3 separate regions of the Homo sapiens genome follow, and regions 2 and 3 are each linked to region 1. The links are contacts of gene promoters, found by promoter capture Hi-C in blood cells and fetal thymus (Javierre and others, 2016). All regions are on one chromosome and are shown on one strand. The core of a region is centred on a gene start or on the middle of the fragment in contact, and the rest is flanking DNA. Distances in the headings are between cores, read along the strand shown.

Region 1 (3,243 bases), core at 522-3,021:
GTTTTGATTAGCCATAAACCAGTGGTCCCTTCAAACTTGTTTTCAGTTCTGGGGCTACCATGAGTACATTATTATCTGGGAATGACAATTAATCCCTATAATCTGTACGGGAGGAAGGGCTAATCTTGGTCACCGCTATATTAACTCTAAGTTAACCAGTGAAGTATTTTACCTTAGAAAAATACTTAACCCAGCCTGACCAACATGGTGAAACCCCGCCTCTACTAAAAATACAAAAATTAGCCAGGTGTGGTGGTGCGCGCCTGTAATCCCAGCTAGTCAGGAGGCTGCGGCAGGAGAACTGCTTGAACCCGGGAGGCGGAGGTTGCAGTGAACCAAGATCACGCCATTGCACTACAGCCTGGGCGTCAGAGTGAGAATGTATCTCAAAAAAAAAAAGAGAAAGAAAAAGGAAAAATACTTTCCATATATGGAACACTTAATTACAAACATCATTTGCCTTTCCCCAATCTTAGCACCCTTACTTTTGAGTGACTCTATTCTATGTATTTAGTAATCGTTTAACTAATGCTTTCAAGCCTTTTCATAAGCCACGGACCCTACGGGACACTCTCTTCTTTCCCACCCAACACCCACTATATTTAAACCTTAATAAAACTCATCCTTAAAAATTCTTCCGAATTAACTCATCCTAATTCTCTGCATTCCATTTATATTTAACACTAAATCAATTAGCATTCTACTAGACCTTCCTTTCAACTTTTAACCACTTGCATCCACCTCCTACCCCCTTCAAATCTCTCCATCCAGTCTTTCCAATCTTTGTTCTAATATGTGTGTGTATGTACGTATAGCATTAGTACTATAATTTAAAAAACTCCAGGAAATTCTGAAAAATAGAAAATGGAAGGTTAATACAGCCAAAAAAAAAAAAATCATCACAAAAATGCTTCAAGGAAAAACAGTAACAACTCAATCAACTGACAACTGAATCTGACAATACTTTGGAAAAGTACTACTTTAGGTTCTCAAGGACGCAAAGAGCCCTCAACAACTCAATTCAATCCCTGAATTATTGTGAGGCTTTAACAAAATCCCTAGAAAACCTCCAGGCATTACCACCAGCCTTTTAAAAATTACCTTCCAATATTACTAGCAGTGATATTTTTACTAACACTGAATTCCAAACAAGTTTTCCTCCCAAGCAGACTGATGAATAAACAATCTTCCTATGCAGAAACCAAATTAAAACCACTTAAAACCATGGAAGGGATACAGTGATTTAACCCTTCTGTAAGGACTGGAGTGGTGGGCAAACAGGTGACAAATGGAAGGGATGCAGAAAGTGGAAACAGAAATCAGTGAGACTCCTCCCCTTCTCTGAGGGCTAAGGTTCAGCTTGCAGCTCCGGAGGCAAAACCTCCACGGACCCTCTCCCTCAGCGACAAGCCGAATACGAAAGCTTCCAGAAAACCACAGGTCCTCCTCCCCGGCCTCGCACTCACGCCCTCACTCGCCTGGCCAACGCCCATTGATAGCAGACAGTCCCTAGTCCGCCCGACTTCTCCCGAGAAAAGGGTCAACAGAGGACGCCTTCCCCGAGGCCTCCTCCGGAACTCAGCCAGCAGAGACTCCGCAAAAATGGAGGGACCCAAGAAGCTTGAAGAAAAGTGTGAAAATTCTATTACCTGGTCGGAACCCTGGAAACGGAAAGGGCAGCTACAGCCACTGCCCTTCTCCGCCACAACGTCTGCCTCAGTACCACTGACATTGACACCGCCGCCATCTTGCTGCAGGCAAACGCCAGGATGAAAGGACGGATCACCGCAAGGGACTAACTTCCTTCGTTCTCAAGCCAGTGCAATCGCAATGTTGCGAAATTCTTTGGGATTTTATTTTCTTTTTAATACTGGGGCTTAAAAAAAGAGGGGAAACGCTTAGTTTAAATAAGTAAGAAGAAAAATGTGCGGGAAGAAATGCAGAAGTGCATTAACTGTAAATATTACCACCATAAAGTGTAATCTTTACTGCTTGTTAGGACTGGTGTTTTACAATGATAACGAAAAGACCAAAATATACTTGCATATTTAAACACCTGCAACTCGTAATTTATTGAAGAAATTAGGATATTTGGGGCTGAACCCACTGGAAAAGCTGGAGAGCTCTTTGGGTCCTTGAGAACCTGCAGTAGTACTTTTCCAAAGTATTGCCAGATTCACTTTGCAAGCCCTCAGGACAGGGCTGTATTCAGTTTGATATTCTGTAGTAGTAATGTTCGTATTTTCCAAACGAAAAATCTGGATACGTGATCTGGCAAAGGATTATTTTTTGACATGTAGATTTATATGAAGAATCAATAGAACATAATATTTGATGTCACTGTTTCCCCAGTAAATCCTGAATGTGTGTGTGTTCATAATCCATAGACATGAAGAATGATATTAATGCTCCATGCATATAAAACAAAAATTATCTTCCAATACAAGTGTTGGAAACATGTTTGTATTGTGGACTTCCGACCTTAAAGAATAATGACTAACTGAATTATATAAAATAAAAAGCAGGTTAGTTTTGGGTTTTGTTTTTTAAGAAATTTGTTTAAAGAGTTAGTACTTTCCTGCTTTTAAAATTAAGCACATGAAAACATAACCTTCATTAAATAAATAGGAACAATAGGAGGATGGGGAATGACATAGTTTGGCATTATGGACCGTTAAAGGAAAACCCAGTACATAAGGGAAAGGGAGAAAGAAAGAGAAAAAGTCATACTCAGGGAAAGAAATGCACAAGATGAAGGAAGGCAAGGGAGAGATGCCTCAGAGAAAATTTTCTTTCAAACTTTTCATTTTGAAATAGTTATAGATTCACATGAAGTTGCAAAGATAGTACAGATGTCTTGTGTACCTGTTTCCCCCAGTGATTACATCTCGTATAACTCTAGTACAGTATCAAAGCCAGGAAACTGGCATTGATATAAAGTATTTGTGTAGTCCTATGTCATTCTACTACATATTTTGTGTAACCACCACCATGATCAAGATACAGAACTATTCCACCCTCACAAAGATCTCCCTAGTGCTAACCTTTTTGGTAACACCTGCCCTCCTAACCCTAGTGATCTCTGTTTCTGTTTTTATAATTTTGACATTTTGAGATGTTATATGAATGGACTCATGCAGTACATGACCTTCTAAGATTGGCTTCTTTCACTTGGCATAATGCACTTGAGACCCATCCAAGTTGTTGTGTTTATCAATAGTTCATTCCTTTTTTATTGCTGAG
Region 2 (3,243 bases), core at 636-3,135, 590 kb before region 1:
TATTTTAGTAGGTGGTTCATTTTTATCTTGATAATATATTTCCTAGAAATATTTCCTTCTCTTCGTATGTTTTAAAAATTGTTGAAGAGTTCTAAGTAACATAAACTTTGGGGGTTTTTTGAATGAATCAAAGAATTACACTATTATTGGCAATTTATACAGCTCATTGGTTTTACTTGTTCAAAAAATTCTTGAATAAAACATATGAAGAGAATTTTAATATCATTGAAAGATCAACTATTCGGGGAAAAGATTTGTATTTTAGAGTAGTTTGTGTTTATACTGCAGGTTTTATTGTATTAGATCTTTTTAGAATGTATTTGTTCCGATAATAAATCTTTGCCAATGGGTTCTTTGCTGGCCAAGCACATTTATCGGATAGGCTGTACCCCAAACCATACATCACTCAGTCTTTCATTACACTCTCTGTCTGGCATTTTTTGGTTGTGTTTTATGTTAGTCAGGGTCTTAACCCATGTAAATAGATTAACAAAGAAATCAGTCAATTCAGTGAACCCACTAAATTCTCTAATGGCGCATGAAAATACTAAGTGCTCTGGAGTTCAGTATGATATCGGTGAGTTTAATGACTTAGGAGAGAGTTATCTTCCATCTCTTTAATCACTTTGTGATATTGGCCTTACCTTGTTTTGTTTTGTTTTGTTTATTTTCCCTTAAGGTCATTCTAACTGTGACCTATTTTTAGCTCGATGAGATTGTAACACCAACTTTACGCCATTTTAATAGCGTTTGGTACCTTCTTATTTTTATCTAATAAAAAACTGGCTGATCTTTTCAGGTGTCTGTTTTCAGTTCGCTATGTGTAGGACAGGTTCGCTTCTGCCAGTCAATTTCATATTCACTTTTAGCTTTATAGCATTAATATATAAAACAACCATGATCAATAAATTCCGATTTTTCTTTAAGACATTTGGTTTTGTCATTTTGACTCCAAAAATTATAAAACATGAATGTTCTTATAATAATTTTTCTATGCAAAGTTTTTAAAAGACTGTGTTCTATTAGGGTATTTTAAATTATAATTGTACTTTTAAGAAAAATAAATGTATGGCATATTAACCATGCCATATGCTTAAAACCTTAAATACAATGGTTGCTCAGAAACTATTGATAAATTAACGTCTAGAAATTAGTTTAATTTAATTTAATTCAAAAAAGAAATACAAGCAGCTGGCAGAACATTCAAATGAAACAAAATAATCTTTCTCCTATTTAAAATTTCCAGATGCATGGTTTATAAAAAAATGCTTTTTTGCTTTGTGGCTTCTGCTGATTATTCCTTGGTGACAATAATATTACTTATGGATATTTAAAAATCAAAGAACACATTGTAAATGCATGGTTTGAGAGTTATATGGGTTTTAAATATGGCTGTTACTAAGTATTTTATTTTTAGGTTGGACACAAAGCTTTTATTGAACACCTTCCAGGTATAAGAAACTATTGGTTGGTTAATAAGACATTTATTACATATGATGTTTACTTGGATGAAACAAACAGTAACTGTATGTGGACAGTTTTAAAAAAAGTGAACACCAAGGAATTCGTAAGGTTGGCTCTGTGCCATCAAAATTCAGTACAATGAAAGATCAAGTTAGGGGACTAGAGGTACATAAGGTGGGAATAGGTCTGTTCTCAAGCACGGTTTAATTTTGCCGAAAGAGCTGTTCCCTGACAGTTGCTGAAATGGAAATTACAATGGAGAGGATACCATAGGATTTGGTGGTTATGTTTTAGTTGGTACCTATTTCGTAATGAGGTTAAGAGATGCAGGTAAAAGGCAGAGCCTCAGGGATCAGAGCAGATACATTCGTTCCAGGCTAGTGATACATAAGTTTTTGGCATGTGTTAGTATTGAAGAGCAAATTTCTAGCCTATGCATAGATTCTTTTACTTTCTCAACTTTAATAGCTCTGTTTCCAGTTGACACAGTGTCTGAAGGAAGAGGGGACTTTCTGAGTAGAATCCAATTGTGTATCCTGTGTCACATGCTCGGGGGCAAGCACTTAAGGGAGTTGACTTCTTGACAGCTCATTCACTAAGTCATTTCCTCAAATATTTTTTGAGGCTAGGTACTAGGTTATGTCTCAACCAGGAACACATGAAAAGCTAGGCTAACCTGTATAAAGTGTAGCTTTCCTAGGAGTTAACGTGTATGCTAGATATGAAGGGGATCATCCCAAAATAAGGTGTATGTGCACTTAGGGGGAATTATGACTGGCTGAAATCAAGTTGTCTGAGAGGGAGTTGCTTGACTGAGAATTTCTGGGAGGAGAGAGTTATATGTTTTATGATCAATGTGTGAAGATATGAAGCTTTTATTCACCAGTGGAGGGTTGCTCAGAAGACAGGTTAATCAGAGTTCAATCACATTGTCAATCAGAGAAAAATTCTGAATTCAGGGGAGGACCTCAAGAAAATAGGTGGTAAATATAGAGATTAAGAGCCAGGACAGTGATGAATTCTTAGTGAGGAATGCCCAGGTAGTTCTCCTTATCCTGGGGTTAATTCAGGAGAACAGCATGGCCCCTGTTCTCCCTGCTAATGTCCTTCCTCTACCCATTTCAGATAGTTCCAAGGCTCTTCTTCACTCTTTCCCAGTCTTAAGTTAAAATTCTCACTTCTTCAAAATAGGGAAGCGCATAAACCTGTGCTCATTATCTATTTAGAAGAAATGATATGGGGTGAGGAAACAATGAATAATGGAGTTACACTCAGTGAAAGTCACTTTTGGGGATCTTAATGACAAACTATATGTTTGCACACACAAACATATGTTTGTGTGTGAATATATATGTGTTGAATATATATTACTTATAAAAATTATTATTTCCTCTTACCAATTTTCTGTTTTGTGAAAGTGTTTTTATATCTTTTTCCTGAAAAATTCTTAAAATTCTCATTCACATCAATTTCTTTTCATGTGGTGTTTTCTTACTGTTCACTTGATCATTTTACCACAATTAATTATGGGTCTAGCATGGTCCTATGGGCAGAGAATGAAAGATCTAAGCACAGCCCTCATCTTCAGGGAACTCCTCATTCAGTGATGGAGACATTCATGAAAAGAGAAATAGGAAATTAGTGAAAATTTTGAAAATAATGAAATGAAAGGGAAAAAAATTAAGTGCAGAAGTACAAGGTAAATTATGACACAGTGATAGTCTAGCCCAGTGGTTTGGTGGGCCATTTCTATTTTGCTATTTTAAGAATGCCTTGTTC
Region 3 (3,209 bases), core at 203-2,702, 750 kb before region 1:
AACATAAAAATCTCTGTTTTCCAGTTGATGAGTGAATCTTCCTAGAAGGGCACACAACTTTTCCCCTTTCCATGATGGGGTTTAAAGGCCATGTTTACATCTGCCAAGTCTCTGGGTAAACATTTAGCTGCTGTCCCAACAGGCAGTACCAGCATCTTACTCTTTCTTCTCATAGGTAGAACTAGTAACACAATGTGCAGAGCTTTTTGGATAAGGTAGGAGAAAATAGTCAGGTTAAAATGAAAGAGAAAAACACATTTCTCGAGTTTTCCTGGGAGGTTGGACAAGATCAACTTCTAGATTCCTTTCAGTTCAAAATTTTCTGTCTTGACTCATGTGATGATTGATCTGGAATTAACCTTTTTTCCCTCTGCGCCATCAAAACAACAGTGGTAGAATTGGTTGTACTCTGTGTAATACCTATGATGATTAAATGAGATAGTGGAGGGAAAGCCATTTGTAAACAGTACGTTGCTTTTCAAATATAAAATGTTAACGTATTGTGTGGCTGGGCGAGGTGGCTCACGCCCGTAATCCCAGGACTTTGGGAGGGCAAGACAGGCGGATCACTTGAGGTCAGGAGTTTGAGACCAGCCTGGCTGACATGGAGAAACCCCATCTCCACTTAAAATAGAAAAATTAGCTGGGTGTCGTGGCGCATGCCTGTAATCTCAGCTACTTGGGAGGCTGAGGCAGGAGAATCGCTTGAACCCAGGAGGCAGAGGTTGCAGTGAGATCGCACAACTGCACTCCAGCCTGGGCGACAGAGTGAGACTCCGTCTCAAGACAAAAAAAAAAAAAAAAAGTTAACGTATTGTGATTATGTTGCTGATGTTACTTTTATACCTCCTGTAGAATGACTGTTACTGCTTAGTGGTATTGAAATACCTTTTAAACTAGTCTCAATTTATGGAAATACTGGGAGTTGTAATCAACAAGCAGGAAGTCACAAGACTCTTTTAAGAATCTTTTAAAAGCTACGAAAATAAAACCCATTTGAATAATTTATCTATTCAACAAATATTTATGGAGCCCTTACTTTCTGCATGGCCCTGAAAGTCATGCGGGATGAACCCTCAGCTGTAATATCCTCCTTGACTGCAGGACTGGCAGTCGTGTGGCTCTAGAGGAACCTGTGGCAGGACAGGTTAAGTAAGGCACATAGGGGAGGGGGTAGCTTCTGATGTGCTTCTTTGCTTTCTAGTACATTTCTCTCATTTTGTGTGTTTTATTGTGAACTAAAATATAAACTTAGACTTGAAAATGTGACAAGTAAAAATGGTTGATTAGTCTTGGATGCTAATTGTCAATTAATATTCATTGCATTTGTTTATAGTAGCCTCCACCCTCCCATCCACGGTTTTACTTTTCAAGGTTTCAGTTAACCATGGTCCACCGAGGTCTCAAAATAAGTGAGTAAAGTACAATAAGATATTTTAAGAGAGAGAGAGACCACATTCATATAACTTTTATTACTGTATATTGTTATCATTGTTCACTTTTATTATTAGTTATTATTAATCACTTACTATGCCTAATTTACACATTAAACTTTATCATAGGTGTGTGTGTATAGGAAAAAATATAGTGTGCTCTGTGCTATGTTAGTTAGTTCTATGATAGCTCAGTACTATCTGTGGTTTTAGGTATCCACTGGGACTTGGAATATATCCCCCATGGATGAGGGGAAACTACTGTACCGTGTTGGGGATTTTTTATTTATTTATTTTTTTTTTGTGACAGAGTTTTGCTCTTGTCATGCAGGCTGGAGTGCAATGGGGTGATTCTCCTGTCTCAGCCTCCTAAGTAGCTGGGATTACAGGTGCCCACCACCATGCCCAGCTAATTTTTGTATGTTTAGTAGAGACGGGGTTTCACCATGTTGGCCAGGCTGGTCTCAAACTCCTGACCTCAGGTGATCCACCTGCCTCGACCTCCCAAAGTGCTGGGATTACAGGAGTGAGCCACCGTGCCCTGCCAGTGTTTGGGATTTAATAAGATTAGATTTGATAGGTTAGTTTAATAAGATTTCTTTGTATAGACTGGTGGACTTGACCTATTTAGTTTCTTGGTTATAGGCTGTATCTGCCATCATAAAAATGTATGTCTCAGTGGGGAAGATGTGGTGAGAGAATTGGGTTGATCATCACAAATCTGTCACCATTTGCAGGATAAAAACCAGCTAACTAACCAACAATAGAAACCCATGATGTGCTACAAAGGGTAGAGCCCACAGGCACTATGAAATTGTAAAGGATCCTACTTGAAAAGAGGAGTGAAGGTACATTTGTGATTTCATATTATGTTCAGTTATCTGTGAACTGAACTTCTTTATTGATAAAAAAAAAAGTACATTGTTTCGTTGTTTTTAACCCTGAATATCTATGAACATTGTAAGTTGTATTTATTGTGACTAACTTTAAAGTGATAATGTAGGTCACTTTTTAGTCTAAATGTCGAGTGGATTAGGCAGTCATATTAAATATTCCTTTCTTAATAATTTATAAGATAAAAATTATCTGAGCACAATAAACAGATCTACCATATATGGAGTTCATATAGCAAAAATGTTTTGAGCAAATCCGTACCATTAGGTAGGAACTTTTCTACAAAGGTGTTAAGTCTGGTTCCCAAACTTCTGTGGCTCCAGTCTAACAGTATGAGCCCTAGGAGAGGACACATAGGGACCTTGATTCATGCCCTCCAGGGGCTTGCATTCTGAAAGATGCCAAAGCCACATGCTTGTTGGCATGTGGGCAGTGCTCAGGTCGGGGGTGAGAGGAGATAAGTATATGAGTTATAATCAGGAGGGCAAAATCAGTTAACATTTATTGAACACTTACTCTGTGCCAGTGTTCTAAGTGCTTTGCATGTGTAATAGCATTAAACTGAGGCTCAGGGAGGTTGTGTAATTTCCTCAAGTTCACACAGCTAGCAAGTAGTTGAACTGCGCTTGTGGCCCCAGGGCCCTCCCTCTTCATTGCCTTCCACCTACAAGTAGTTCCCTTGTGCTAGGCAGAGGCTCAGGCAGCTTGGTGTTAAGGCAGTTGGGATGCACTCAAAATTTTTAGTATATTGCTTCTTAAGTAAACAGGTACAGAAAAGTGGTCCTTGACCACTACTATGTTAAAGAAAGCAGTGGCCATGAGCAGGCAGGCTGATGCGCCCTTGTCCCCAAGGACTCTGGCAGGTGATTGTTACAGAGAAGG

The links. The method cuts DNA at HindIII sites, captures the fragments that hold promoters and counts their contacts. A CHiCAGO score of 5 or more calls a contact.
Region 2: a fragment that was not itself captured here is called in contact with the fragment with the promoter of NDUFS4 in region 1 in 1 of 17 cell types (naive B cells); the score reaches 5.9 in naive B cells.
Region 3: a fragment that was not itself captured here is called in contact with the fragment with the promoter of NDUFS4 in region 1 in 7 of 17 cell types (fetal thymus, monocytes, naive CD8 T cells and 4 more); the score reaches 9.3 in fetal thymus.

What each region holds. Positions count from the first base shown.
Region 1 is chr5:53,559,167-53,562,409 of GRCh38, reverse strand. NDUFS4 (NADH:ubiquinone oxidoreductase subunit S4) reads right to left here and starts at 1,771. Exons shown (of 5, transcript NM_002495.4): 1 at 1,650-1,771. The coding sequence starts at 1,747. RefSeq lists an enhancer at 1,370-1,869. The HindIII fragment of the contact is 3,063 bases long and covers 1,623-3,243 here.
Region 2 is chr5:54,151,246-54,154,488 of GRCh38, reverse strand. All of the region lies in intron 3 of ARL15 (ARF like GTPase 15), which reads left to right. Among named protein-coding and RNA genes, the nearest start is that of ARL15, 160 kb to the left of the region's middle. The HindIII fragment of the contact is 906 bases long and covers 1,433-2,338 here.
Region 3 is chr5:54,303,988-54,307,196 of GRCh38, reverse strand. The region is part of intron 1 of ARL15 (ARF like GTPase 15); the gene reads left to right. Among named protein-coding and RNA genes, the nearest start is that of ARL15, 5.0 kb to the left of the region's middle. RefSeq lists an enhancer at 1,862-2,525. The HindIII fragment of the contact is 5,398 bases long and covers 1-3,209 here.